Linked DNA regions of Homo sapiens: region 1 is linked to region 2. The links are contacts of gene promoters, found by promoter capture Hi-C in human tissues and cell types (Jung and others, 2019). All regions are on one chromosome and are shown on one strand. Each heading gives the region's core, a stretch centred on a gene start or on the middle of the fragment in contact. The rest is flanking DNA. Distances are from core to core; before and after follow the strand shown.

Evidence for each region. Contacts are between HindIII fragments. The study calls those that stand out against the background at their distance.
Region 1: a contact is called between a fragment that was not itself captured here and the fragment with the promoter of TUBB2A in region 2, in 1 of the 25 tissues and cell types used here (dorsolateral prefrontal cortex).

What each region holds. Positions count from the first base shown.
Region 1 is chr6:3,723,442-3,730,616 of GRCh38, reverse strand. It overlaps PXDC1 (PX domain containing 1), which reads left to right. Exons shown (of 5, transcript NM_183373.4): 4 at 2,955-3,066; 5 at 6,881-7,175. The coding sequence ends at 6,998. Among named protein-coding and RNA genes, the nearest start is that of PXDC1, 25 kb to the left of the region's middle. RefSeq lists an enhancer at 6,104-6,642. The HindIII fragment of the contact is 7,395 bases long and covers 1-6,875 here.
Region 2 is chr6:3,155,912-3,162,144 of GRCh38, reverse strand. TUBB2A (tubulin beta 2A class IIa) reads left to right here and starts at 4,601. Exons shown (of 4, transcript NM_001069.3): 1 at 4,601-4,738; 2 at 5,993-6,101. The coding sequence starts at 4,682. It overlaps LOC105374889 (a long non-coding RNA gene), which reads right to left and starts at 4,444. Exons shown (of 2, transcript XR_926395.3): 1 at 4,392-4,444; 2 at 2,709-3,713. RefSeq lists a cis regulatory region at 1,403-1,997 and a silencer at 4,260-4,719. The HindIII fragment of the contact is 12,624 bases long and covers 1-6,233 here.

The sequences.
Region 1 (7,175 bases), core at 1,929-4,428, 570 kb before region 2:
GGCACAGGCTACAGGCTTAGCAAGAAGATCTCCTTAAACCAGTGGTCCCTACAATTAGAGGCTTGCTACAGCTAAATGTTTTTTCTTCTTTTTTTTTTTTTAAACTGTGGACGTGTTCTAATTTCTACAGCTTTTCTTAGGACTTGTTTGTTAAAGTGACCAAGTAAATAAAAATGTAAACTGTTAGAGAATCTGTGCTCCATTTTCACCTGGCACAGGCGTATAAAAGCTGTGCACACTTCCCTAGGTTTTAAGACAATTTGCTTTTCAATAAACCATCCCTTTCTGAACCCGTGTTGGGAATAAATGTTCCAGAGGTTGCTGCACACCTGCCAGCTGTGTAGCCTGCTGGCTTGCCCCTAGGTTTTTCGAGGTTCTGGGGCTGACAGCAGAGGTGGGATCCAGGAGGGAACCGGAGCTTCTCAGGGACCATCTTTAGTGAAATGTGAGAGTCTAAGCGAAGTCCCTCTCTGGGCCGGGCCTGAGACAGCAAGGTCCATGCAGGAGGCACCAGACATACCTTAGTGTCCTTCAGGGCCCAGCCAGCCTTGCAAATAATTAAACCACATGTATGTGCATGAGGCTCCTTGTCACAGGCAATTAAGGAAGGATTGCTTACAAATCTATTTTTTGGGGGACTGGTAATGACTCCGTTTTATAGAGCTCCAAATTTCACATTTAAGAAAGATTAGGCATGTAAAGTAACTCTTCAGAATTTTATTCAGAAGTGATTTGCAGCAGTGACATTTGTTTTAACTTGTAGGCCACCACCCAACCAAGTTCCCTTTGCAAAAGGGGTGGGAGAAAGGGGGATGGGGCTGTCAGCTGGCTGTATGGAGGTTGCTCTGAGGTTTTATGTGCTTCCCAAGAAAGACAGATTTGGGTCAGAGTTAATAAAAACAATAAAGGCAGTGGTTCTGTGCTGCCACCCATTTTAGATAGAGAGGCGAGGGAATCTTAGTTTATCTTGTTAGGATATGGCAGTTTTCACAGTCCGCCTGTTCAGCGAGGCTTTGGTAAGCATCTTCTTTCGCCCCTTTTACACCTGGAAGTGTGGCTGACCCCAGACTTTGGGCACTGATTCCTCTTTGCTTCGCAGAGCTCCTTCTCAGGACCTGCAGCCCTACCAGGTGGTACAGGGAGGAGGGCAGGGAAGAGCTGAGGACTGATGTCCCCAGGAAACACCAGTGGCCCTTCTCCAGAAAGGCAGGTGGAATTTTAGCAATGACCTGATGAATCTGACTGATGAATCGACATTTTGATCCTATGGGGGGCGAGGAGGAAATCTGTTTCTCTTTCCTCATTTTTGTGTAATTTCCCTAATTCTCTTCGTATGGAAAGCAGTTCAAAGAACTGAGAACCAAATATGTAGAAAGATTAAACAGAAAGTGACTATTTCAGTTACCAAAGAAAGCAAATCCATACACGGGAATGAACCAGGCTAAATTGTGGTAAGGTGTAAGAAAAAATAAAGGAAAACAGTCCCCCAAGCAACTAAGGCATCCGATGGGGCAGTGAGCGATGTTCCTGTTGGGTGTGGTGTGCCAGGGGAGAGGGAGGGCTGTTAGGAGCTGTGTCCTGAATGGGAAGAAGATAATCCCTTGGATTTGAGAAGGCACCAGGAATTTGGAGTATATTTTAGGCATGACTTTTATGATGGGGTGCATAGAGGTTCTGAGTCGAAAGAACAGATGAAGGTGGTCCTGGTCTTAGAGCTGTGGTTAGGAGATGAGCAGGCTCACGGGCAGCTGGAGGACTTTAGCTCCAAGAACTGGCCATGGCTACCAGATCTCATCTGCTGAGCGAGGGGACGGAAACGCGGTCCCTCAGAAAATACAAACGAACGCTGCAGCTTTTTATACCTAGATGGACCAGATGGCATGATGCGATCCAGGAGTTCATGGGATTTCAGAGTGAGAAGGATCCTCAGAGATTAATACAACTTTGAAATTTTTCATTGGAGGAAACTGAGTCCCAAGGCCATGGAGCTCGTTGTCCTGGCTCCTCATCCTCCATTCCAGCCCCTCCAGCCAAGGACGAGCGCAGACTTCCACCCTCTAGCTCATGCCATGCAGCCAGTATGGACGTAGGAAGTCGTTTTTCTTTGCTGGCTTTTCTAAATTACCCGAATCTGTGCTTATTTGGGAAAAAAATCATTTACATACAGAATTACATAAAGCGAAACAGTGAAAGTCACCCTTTGGTTTAAAATGCACACTGAGAAGTAACTCAGGAATGGGCAACCAATATTGTATATTCTCACTTAGAAGTGGGAGCTAAGCTATGAGGATGCGAAGGCATAAGAATGATATCATGGACTTTGGGTTCGTGGGGTGAGGGATAAAAGACTACTTACTGGGTATAGTGTACCCTGCTTGGGTGATGGATCCACCAAAATCTCAGAAATCACCGCTAAAGAACTTATCCGTGTAACCAAGACCCACCTGTAACCCCAAAACTATTGAAATAAGAATAAAATGCACACTGATTTCATTCAGTCAGAACAACAACCCAGGGCAGTCAATATTGTTACTCATGTCTCAGCCACAGTGAGAGCTCAGCAAGGAGAGGTACCCTGGGCAGAGCCACATGTCACTGTGCCATAGCTCTGCTCTCACACGCAGACTCACAGATTTGAGCCCAGTACTCCTTCTTTGTACTCCAGCTTGAAGCCCACAGCGAAGGGCATATGGAGAGCGTACTCAGGCAGCAGAGCATCTTTGTCTTGGGAGAGACACACAGCAGGCCTGGCTCCTGCGGGGATTGACCTCTTCCCTGACTTTGTGCGGCAGAGCTCTGAATGGGTCTCGGGTGCACGGCATTCTCTTACGGTGTGGAAGAGAGGCACGGGCAACAGGTGGAGGAGAAAGCAGGGAGATGGGAGTAAGTTCCAAACTCCAAAACCTCAAGCTCCGACCCCTCCTGAGGACTCACCTTGTTGCTTTGGTTTTCAGAAATCATGAGGTCCAATGGATTTTGTTTAGCAAATACCGAAACAATAGTTATTGACCACAGTATACCAAATGGAAGAGACCAGCAGCTGGGCGTGGACCCAACAGAGCATTTGTAAGTATGCTGATTTGAATATCGTTTCATAGACTGTCCTGAGCCATTTGCCTTGTGGGATGGGGGCTCACTGTTCTTATGGAAGGAAGTGGGTGCCCAGAGCCACCCAGCAGTTCCTACCTGCATTTGGACACTGATTTTAGAAGTTTGCCTTTCCTAGAGTCTGGTGAGATCTTGATGAGTGAATCTGTGGAAGATGGAGTTGCTGGCTCTGAGGGGCATTTAGGAGACGTTGCAGGGCTAGGGGCCTGGTTCGTGTGGGGCCCTGAGGGGTGTGATGCTGTCTCCAGGGCCAGGAGGGCCACATGCCTCACACTCAATGGTCCTGATTCCCTGAGATGGGGACATGTTTGCCTCAAGGCTGCCTGGCCCTGTGCTGAAGGTGTAGGATGTATCTGATTACTGAGGCTGGACAGCCAAAGCCACCACTGTCTTCTCCGCTCTTTCTGTCTCTGATTTGACTGTAACACATGCTCTAGAGAGCCCGGCACTGGGGTCGGCAGCATCTTCAGCCTTGGCTCTCCTCCAGGCATCTTCTTGGTGAATTCTGGGGGCACCAGGGTCCCCAGACAGCTTGGCCTCTGTTTCCTGACACAGCCAAATCCAGACTGCTCCTTGGCTGTATGAGCTCAGAAAGTTATTTAACCTTTCCTGACTTCTCTTACCTTCACGGGACCATTCTGCTGTCCCACCACGGGTTGTGTTGAAGACCACAGATGGTGAGTGTAAAACATCCCGCTTGAGAGTCCCACAGAGGCAGCTCTGGATGCAGAGTCTCCCTGTGGGCCCAGGAATGACATAGCCTGGGGATGGCCCGGGTCTTGCCCCACGCATTTGCTAGCCCTCCATAGCAGCAGATTGAAACTAGAGCCGGCCACATGTGCCGAGGCCCACATCCGGGCCTGTGGGCGGCAGGGCTGTGACCCCAGCGTGAACCTGGGCCCCAGCCGGCGGCCTGGGCCTCCTCTGCTGAATCCCTGCTCCATGACTGAGCATGGGGGGGTCCCTGTCAGGCTTGTGGGACTGGCTCCTGCTAACAGACCCCGTCTTTACCAGTGTGTCTCCCGGGTAGATGGTGCGAGAATCCTTCCCAGTAGAGGGGTCATGAGCTGCTGGTGGCAGAGGCTGTGCCGGTGGGGCCAAGGCCGCAGCTTTCCTGACCTGCCTTGCCCTTTTGTGTCCCTTGCCCTGACCCCACTGTACATAGCTCATTCACTCATTACCTATGGGTCCCCCATGCCAACAGGCTGGCACCGTGGAGGTACAAGGCTGGAGTGTAGTCATGGATGAAAGAAAGAGGCCCTTTAGCTTGGCAGGGGTAGTTACTGGCCAGGCACTGTCTTGGGGAGAAGACAGATGGAGACCCTTCCTCATCACCAGTTGTGCAGGCTCTGAGTCTGCAGTGTTTGCAAGGGGACCCCTTTCTATATCCAAGAGGCCCTTGGCACCCTGGAATGAGGCCAGATTTAGGAGGCAGGTTCAACTGTGAGCAGGCTGGAGCTGAGGAGAAACACACGGAGGGAAGAAAGCCGGGCCAGAGGTGTGGCTCTTGCAGCTGCCCGGGACTGACTGCATGTGCACAGGAGTGACAGGTCTTGAATAGGCGGCCACCTGCTCCGGGATGCCTGGCTCACAGAGAGGGCCGAGAAAATCTCCATGACCCCAGAAAAGCCTAACAAAGAAACGCCTGCCGCCATGGGGCTCGGGAGCATCTGGAGGGAGTTCCGACTTGGGCTTGCCGGGCCTTTCTCTGGCTCCTCAATCTCGGGCAGTGCAGTGGAGTCGATGGTCCAGCTCCAGTGTCTCACAGGGACGATCTGTTTCTACACGGCACCGGCTGTCGGGTGGGGGGTTGACAGCGACCAAGAGCACAGACACCCTTTGTGGAACTGGAGGCTTCACCTCCCTGCGTGGCTGTCCTCCCTGGCACCCGAGGCTGATTGTCTGGCCCGAGCCTGTGAGCCCAGTGCCGCCGGGCCCACAGCAGGGCCCCCACAGCAGAGTCTCAGCAGGCTGCCCCGAGTCTGGCCCCAGGGGCAAGTGGGCACCAGTGCCAGGGCCCAGAGACCCACCTGCACTCAGGGAATGGATGTATCTGATAGAGATGGGGCCAGTGGGGACTTCTGGGGCTCTGCAGGTGACAGTCTCAGCTGGCGAAGGGATTGCCTGGCTTCTGGGAGGTCATCCAGGGCCGAGGCACTGGGCGGTTCTGTGGGGACCTCAGGGAGCCTTAGCCCCATGACTCATTTTCCCTGAGCATCCCGGTCCCCCTCCCTCCTCATGTCCTCAGGGTCATCCTGTGATCTGGGCAGGGAGGACGGGCAGGTGGTGGGACACTGTTTGAGGTGGCGCTGTGGCTCTGTCCCTCGACTGGCTTGAACCTTTCGGCACGCCCAAGGTTCCCCCTTGGGTTTCCATCCAGCCCTGGTCTGGGGAAGAGATTTCATTCCCTGGATGAAGTTGGAGAGCTGCTCTGTCTCCGTGAGCCCCCCATAGCTTTCCCACCCACAGCTAGGGCTCTTTGTGCCGCGGCCTCTGTCCCAGCCTCGTGTTGCCAGGACCGTGAGCATAGGGAAGCCGAGGCGGGGGCTGACACCACACTCCAGGCCTGGCCATGGAGTCAGAGGGGAGGCCTTCCTCTGCAGCCTCAGCCTTTCTTATCCAAATGCCTTAAAGCTGTCTTCACAGCCCTGTCCCTTGAGGTCAGCGGGATTCGCACGATGTACTAGGTTTGTGGGGGACATATGCTCGCCCTGCCTTGTTGTGTGTCCGGCCAGGGGCCTGGACTGTGCAGTCATCTTGGTCATGGCAAAGCTTTCCAGAGATGGCTGAGTTCCCACAGTTGTCCACGGGCCAGGGCCACCTTCAGTCACTGGGGGCGGCACAGGAGGCAGCCCCGAGGTGGCTCCCAGGAGGGCGGGGCAGCTGCTTGCCTCTGTCCACACTCCCACGCGGCCTGCTGGGTTTGGGCTGATTCATAGGTGGAGGAAAATCCCACGAGCCGTACAGCTCTGTCCCCCTTCCTGGGGAGAATGTCCTTCTTGTGCTTTTCTCTGTTACGCATTTTTAAAGACCTGGAGTCTCTTTTCTTAACGTAGGAAGTCTGCCTGGGCTGCAGAGGGAGTAGAAACAGTTCCAGTGTGTGGGGAGTCAGTATCGCGGGCTTTTACGTCCCCTTATGTTTGGGGTTTGTATTCTTCCCTAGTTCTCCACACCCCATGTAAGTCCCCCATGTTCGGATGCTTCTCATCTGCCAGAGCGCGAATGAAACACGTACCCACATGCAGGCTTCCCCGCTAGAAGGTGTCTCCCCCCGTGACCTCCACGGGCCTCGCCGGCTCTTCTCCAGCCTCCTGTTCCCTCGCAGCCTCCTGTGCGTCCGTGTGTCATCTCTGCTGCGGTCAGGCTGTGAGCTCGTGACCACTCCTCTCTCAGCTGTCCCCAGGGCCCAGCACGAGGCAGGCGCCTCTTCCCTGAGGACAGACCCTGCCTGCCTTGTTCACTGCTGATCCCACAGCCTGACGCGGTGCTGGGCACAGAACAAGAGGTGAAAATCAGCACTCCATGAATGAAGGAATGGATGAAGGCCTCGCTAAGGGTTGTCTAAGCAAATGCAGACAGCAGTCTCCAAGGCAGTGGAAACCAGAAGCTCTGGCAGTCTCAGAGCAGGAGCCAGCTCACCAGTTCATTTGTAGCCGTGGTTTTTTTGCACACTTACTAGCGGGCATTGAAAGTCATGCTCATGGTCCCGGCGGGTGTTTGGTGTTGATCCCAACAATGAGCCACCCCTCACCTCTGGTTTCTCTAATTTCAGATTTGAGAATGGCAGTGAGTTTCCCTCAGAGCTGGAGGACGGGGACGACCCAGCAGCCTACGTCACCAACCTGTCATATTACCACCTGGTCCCCTTCGAGACAGACATTTGGGACTGAACCTCTCTATCAGGCCTCCCCCGCCTCAGCTGTTCACTGCCAGCTCTGATGCTGTCCACTGTGCTGGCCCCCATGGTCACAGCTGCTGCCCCAGCTCTGGAACTCCCAGACGTCCCAGGCCCCACTGACGCCAGGAGGCCTGGGTGTCCTGCAAGTGGAGCAGCAGGGGCTCCTAGT
Region 2 (6,233 bases), core at 3,352-5,851:
GATTATGGGGAGAATGACAGTTGGGAGTAGGTTACATATTTTTGAGAATTTGTGAGATTATGTCTAAGTCATAGCAGAAGAAGATATAGTATTTCTTCACTCTTAATGTTGAAGGCAAAAAAAAAAAAGTTATAAAGGAACAAAAACACCTAAACAGCCCATGAATAGGAAAAACACAAAGGAATATAATACATCAAGCATTTAAAAAAATCTCGAGAACAGGGGATACACTTGTGCTCTTTAGTACTTTCTAAGTGTTTCTAATTTTATAATCAGGAAATATGTATATAAGATATATGTATATATAATTGCTGTGTACATTGTATGTATTTAAAAAAAACTTGGGGGGTTATAGCTTAATGAGAATTTGACATCAAGAATAACATCTTTGAGACCAGCCTGGCCAACATGGTGAAACGCTGCCTCTACTAAAAATACAAAAATTAATCAGGCATGGTGGTGCACGCCTGTAATCCCAGGTACTCGGCAGGCTAAAGCGAGAGGATCGCTTGAGCCTGGGAGGCAGAGGTTGCAATGAGCGAAGATCATGCCACTGCACTCCAGCCTAGTCGAGACTCCATTTCAAAAAAAAACAAAAAATGACATCTTCAGTTTTGAAAGGCCCCAGATCGACACTTGTAATATGAATGTCACATTCTGGGGCATGGCCCATTCCAGAAAGTGGCTAAAAATCTTCTATATATTTACTCTGTATTATTATAGTCATCTGATGCAAAAAAAAAAAAAAATTGTAAACTTTGGTGGGGTTGATATTTTAAAATTAAATTTAATTGGAGTTCAGACTTTTATTTTAGGTAACCTTTTGAAAAGGTTACATCCCCTTAAATGCTTTGAACAAAATTCTTCCATCTTCATAAAGAGATGCTTTTATTTAAAAAATAGCAGACAGGGGCTGCACTGGATGAGTTTCATGGGAAAGAGAAGTTGGAGCGGAGAGTGTGGCTAGTTCTCTGAGGGCACAAACAGGATGCAAGACTGTACCATACAAATTTAGACAATTGTATTGCTGGGATGGTCCTTGGGTTTTCATCATTCTGCAGAGGAAACTAGTGTTTTTGAAGTTCCAGGACTCTCTTACTTGGACCAACTAAATCTATTTCAACTAGATCACGACTGTCACCCTTAGAGATGGCATCAGTGAACAGTAACGATATCATCATAACACCACATATTCACAGGGTACGTTTCACTAGAACATTCTCACCAGGACCCTTCTCGTTGGGCCCTCTGAAGCAGCAGGCGGGAAGGGCAGGCAAAAGGGTAAGAGCTTATGTCCTTTTGTGAAAGACAGATGTGGCTCAGCCTCCTACCTGGAACACATTCTCTAGTCTGAATTTTGTCATTACACCTGCCCTTCCCCGCCCCCCGCCCCTCACCCCGCCAATGATGCCTTCAGGGTAGGGGTGGCTCAGACACTGCGAGTGGCATCCTGTCTAAAGCAGGAAGTGACTTGAGGCTGGAGGAGGTTGGTCCTCTTCCCCTTCCCCATCCCCGGCCCACCCAACAGCCGGTGGAGCTGCTCCTCTTTAGACACTGAAAAATACATGAAAGGGGAGAGATTGCTCCTTAAAAACCTATTCTAGGGAAGGGGACAATTAGCAGGCTCTATTTCCTCCTGTTATTATCTGCATCGGTGCTGTACAAGGTCGAGTTGCTTAGTGACAGCGAGGTGGGGTTGGGGATATCTACACTTGCCGCGAGGGAGGGGAGAGCAGGAACTCACGGCCTCAGATGAGTCACCTTAGGCAGGGCAGGCATTATTTAAAACTCCGCGTGTGAGTTTCTCTGATTATATACTAACACACATCACGGGCGGCACCGAGGGAGGAGCGCGTCAGAGAGAAGTAGGCTGGGCGTGAACTGCCAGGCAGGAGAAGGCCGACTTGGGCAGAACATTCACTGCCAGCGATCCAGAGCAGACAATCAGGTACCTGGCCTGCGCCCGTGAACACTGCCATGGATTTATTTTCTGTGCGCTCACTAATGTCCAGTTCACGCACAGTGCCTCCCAGCTCCCCAACGTAAGAAAAACCCATTTCCAGAGAAGCTCAGAGAGGTGCAGTGACTTGCTGGAGGACTGAGCTAGGAACAGCAGAGTGGGCACATGCTCCACAGGCCGGGAAACGCCCAGCTGCTAGGGGTCCCCGTGTCCCTAGTGCTGTCCCTTTCAGGTCTCATCCTCTGCTCCTATTTGGCCTCAGATTTCACGCTGAATTAAAACACAAAGGCCAAGAAGCAATTATCTCTGGAAAAATCTTTTCAGAACTGTGTAATGAGTGAAGGTACCCCAAGGAGAGCCATTCTCTGGAGAGGATCTGGAAGGCTCCGGCTGTGGTGAAGAGCCAAGATGTGAGAGTTGGGGTGGGGGTGGGGAGAAGGTGGAGGTCAAGCCCTGGGTACCTGGGAGTAGCATCCGAGGGACAGGTTGTCCACTGGGGGCCCAGCAGCAGGGAGAGGGGAGAGAGGAGGAGAAATTCTAGGAAATCTGTCCCCACCCTGAGAAGAGGCACTAGGCACCTGCCTACCTACATCTGGGAGGATGCTGGGCGCTTCCTAAAGCTGGGGTGATTAAGACCTAACTTGGCCTAAGAGGCTACTCACAGACATCTGGCTTTAGTTTCCACCTCCGATACAGACCAACTATTGAGGTGGCAGGTAGGGTGCACATTAGGAATGACAGCATCATCTTGGGTTTTTTGTTGTTGTTTTTTATTGAGACGCAGTCTGGCTCTGTCGCCTGGGCTGGAGTGCAGTGGCGCCATCTCGGCTCACTGCAAGCTCCGCCTCCCGGGTTCACGCCATTCTCCTGCCTCAGCCTCCCGAGTAGCTGGGACTATAGATGCCTGCCACCAGGCTCGGCTAATTTTTTTGTATTTTTAGTAGAGACGGGGTTTCACCGTGTTAGCCAGGATGGTCTCGATCTCCTGACCTCGTGATCCACCCGCCTAAGCCTCCCAAAGTGCTGGGATTACAGGCGTGAGCCACCGCGCCCAGCCCATCACCTTGGGTTTTACCAAGGCATTTTTACTCCATAAACTCAATGTGCTTTCATATATGGCTTCTCATCTCCTACCACAAAGCCAGCTCCAAGGCACCTGTAATTATCATCATTATATAGTTGGAATGTGCTGGGAACCAAAGGCAGTCCCCAAGCCCCTGTTACCTAGTCCACCGTGCAGGGCCATCTTTGTGAATAATTAAGTCAGGTCCTTACCACAGCCCACCCAAGCCTTTAAAACTCACCTGGGCTTTTTATTTATACAAAGGCTTTAGATTCCTTCCCTTCCTAGCTTTGTGGCTGGTCAGGTCTTTCAACCTCGCTTTCGGAGCTATGAAATTGGGGTAGTAATAATGCTTACCAGAAGCCGGTGGTAGTCAACAAAAATATGCGTAAGTGAGCAGCAAATGGAAACCAAGTATGTAATTTTACATTTTCTAATTTCAAAACAAGTCATTTAACACAATGTATCCAAAACACTATTATTTTGATAGACCATCAATATTTAAGAATCAGTAATGAAATATTTCACATTATTTTAACTTACTGAGCCCATAAAAGCCAGTGTGTTCTTCACACTTAACAGCCCATCTCAGTTCAGATTACCTACGTTTCAATGCTCGGCAGCCACCGTGCCTAGGGTCTACCGAACTGGCCAGCCTAGCTCCGACAGCTTCTGTGAGGATCAGGCGACCTAAGGGGTGTAAGGGGCAGGGCCATCAGCTGACACATCAACGTGGCAGATATATTCCTCCTGTCTTTCCTCTCTGACACACACACACACACACACACACACACACACACACACCCGCAGAATTTTCCACATTTAAAAGGCCTTTACAAGGACGCAGGAGCCCAAAGCGGACATGTGACAAATCCAGCCCTTTGATAGCCCCCCCAACCCCCGCCCCCGACCAAGCCATCTTCCTCCCCTGCAGGGGCGAAAGGCCGCCCACCCCGCCATCCTGGCATTCCTTTCAGGCAGCTGCCCGTCGGCTCCCCGCGGCCCCCCACTCCTCTCCACGCTGCCCACCCCACCCCCACAAACGGCGTCCAGGACCCTGCCCAGGATGCGGGAAACCTTTGCCACCCGCTGGAGAGCCCACTGCAAATGGGTCTTCAATTTCCGGCCCCCTACTCCAAAGGGTACTCGACGCCTCTTCCCGTCCTTAGGAGGCGAGGACCCTGTTCCGAGGCAGCCCCTCCCCCTGGTTCCGGGGCCCCCGGTCCCCAGCCCCCCTCGGGGGTCCAGAGTGGGCGGCTCGGGGTGGGGATCGCGGCGTGAGCGGAGGACCCAGCGCCAGGGGTCGCCCGTGCCCGTGGATCGGGCAGGGGGCTGCGGCTGGGCCCGAGGCCCGGGCACCGCACTCACCGCCGGACCGCGAGGCCGGCCGCCCACCCTAGACCCAGCGGCAGCAGCAATAGGGCGAGCGCCCCCACACCTCGCACCGCGCCCCGGCTCCCCCTCGCGGTGCCGCAGTCCCAGCCGCACCGCCCCCGCGGCCACAGCCCCGCCCGTCATGACGTCACCGGGCAGGGCGGGTCCCCGGGTATAAAAGACCGAGCTGGGGGGGCGGCGGCAGGTCTCTGCGCAGCCCAGCCCGCCGGTCCACGCCGCGCACCGCTCCGAGGGCCAGCGCCACCCGCTCCGCAGCCGGCACCATGCGCGAGATCGTGCACATCCAGGCGGGCCAGTGCGGCAACCAGATCGGCGCCAAGGTGGGCTCACCGCCACGGAGGGGCCCGGGGTTGGGACCGAGGGTGCGGGCTGGGGCCGGGGCGGGGGCTGGAGGCCGCGGCGGCCCCGGGCTGGCCGGGTGGCACATTCCGCGGCGAGGCCGCCGGGCGGGGTCCGGGAGGCTGCATGACCCGCCAGGATGCCCGCAGCGCCGCAGCTGTGTGTGCGTTTAATCGGGGGCCTTTCGATTTCCCTGGGACACAGCCCTTCTGCGGGACGCGGTTGGCATTCCCCTGGGTGTATTTGTCTCAGAAACTTGGGTCGGGGGTACGGTCATATTTATTGCGCTAGCTTCATGTGAATTTAATTTGTATATTTTTCTCTACGGTTTGAATGAAAACATGCAGTGTCACTGGACTGGCAGATGTAACAGAGGCGTCCCTTTGGGTCGTACAGGCAAGGGTGTTAGATAAATTCCCTTGCTCGGGCACTGTCTTGACATGATGACATACAACGCGATAGTCTTGCTGCCAGTCCCCGAGGCGGCAGGTGACTGCGCTGGGTGGGGGCTGCAATTACCGACCGCTGTGTGGGAGGCAGCAGCGGGTCTGGTGCATGGGTGGGGGCGGGCGCCAGTACAAGGACGTGGTCTCTTTGAGAACCGCCATGTTGCCCACCCAGCCTCCCCGCCGCAAATTCACAATGCAGCCAGCGCCCTCACGATGGCCAGCTCCTTCCACTGCCGCCCAGGTGCCCTCCCAGGCTCCTGCTGCCCTTCGCCCAGTCCCTCCGGTGGTCAGTGCCAGCATGTAGATCGGTGGCTTAAACCTGCACTGTTGCAGGAGTGCCTGGGATCTGTGCCAAGAGAGCTTGATCCCTGGAGGCAGCCACAGAGTGGGTCCCCCTGTCCTTGGCCTGCCACGACCCATCAATCATCCCGGATGCAATGGCATTCAGCCCTGCCTGGGGTGACACAGCCTCCCTGTACCCCTTCTCCACTTCTCTACTCTCCCCACCCTCTCCCTAGAAGGGCATCTGCTGTGTCCCCTCCTCCTCCAGGGCCCCTCCCAGCCTTTCAGTCTATCCCCATAATATGGCCGATGCTCTGCGGATTTTCAAGCCCCTCAGCAGCGGCTGCTGCAGGAAATAGGGGGTGCAGCTCTTTGCTCTCTGTCTAGCACTTACTAACTGTCTGACCACAAAAGCCCCTGTTCCAAGGACATGGGAGGAGGACAAGGCCATCCTTAGTGACATTCAGGATGCAGAGCCATGGTGTGGTTCTTTTTTCATTTCAGTTTTGGGAGGTCATCAGCGATGAGCATGGGATCGACCCCACAGGCAGTTACCATGGAGACAGTGACTTGCAGCTGGAGAGAATCAACGTGTACTACAATGAGGCTGCTGGTGAGTAGCGGGATGTGTGTGCCCAGGAATCCTTGCTTTCCATGATGTGGGAGATGAAACGTCCCAGGAACATGCACGTGACAAAGGCATGCTTCTTGCATATTCATTTCAAATGCCAACTGCTGGAAAAAC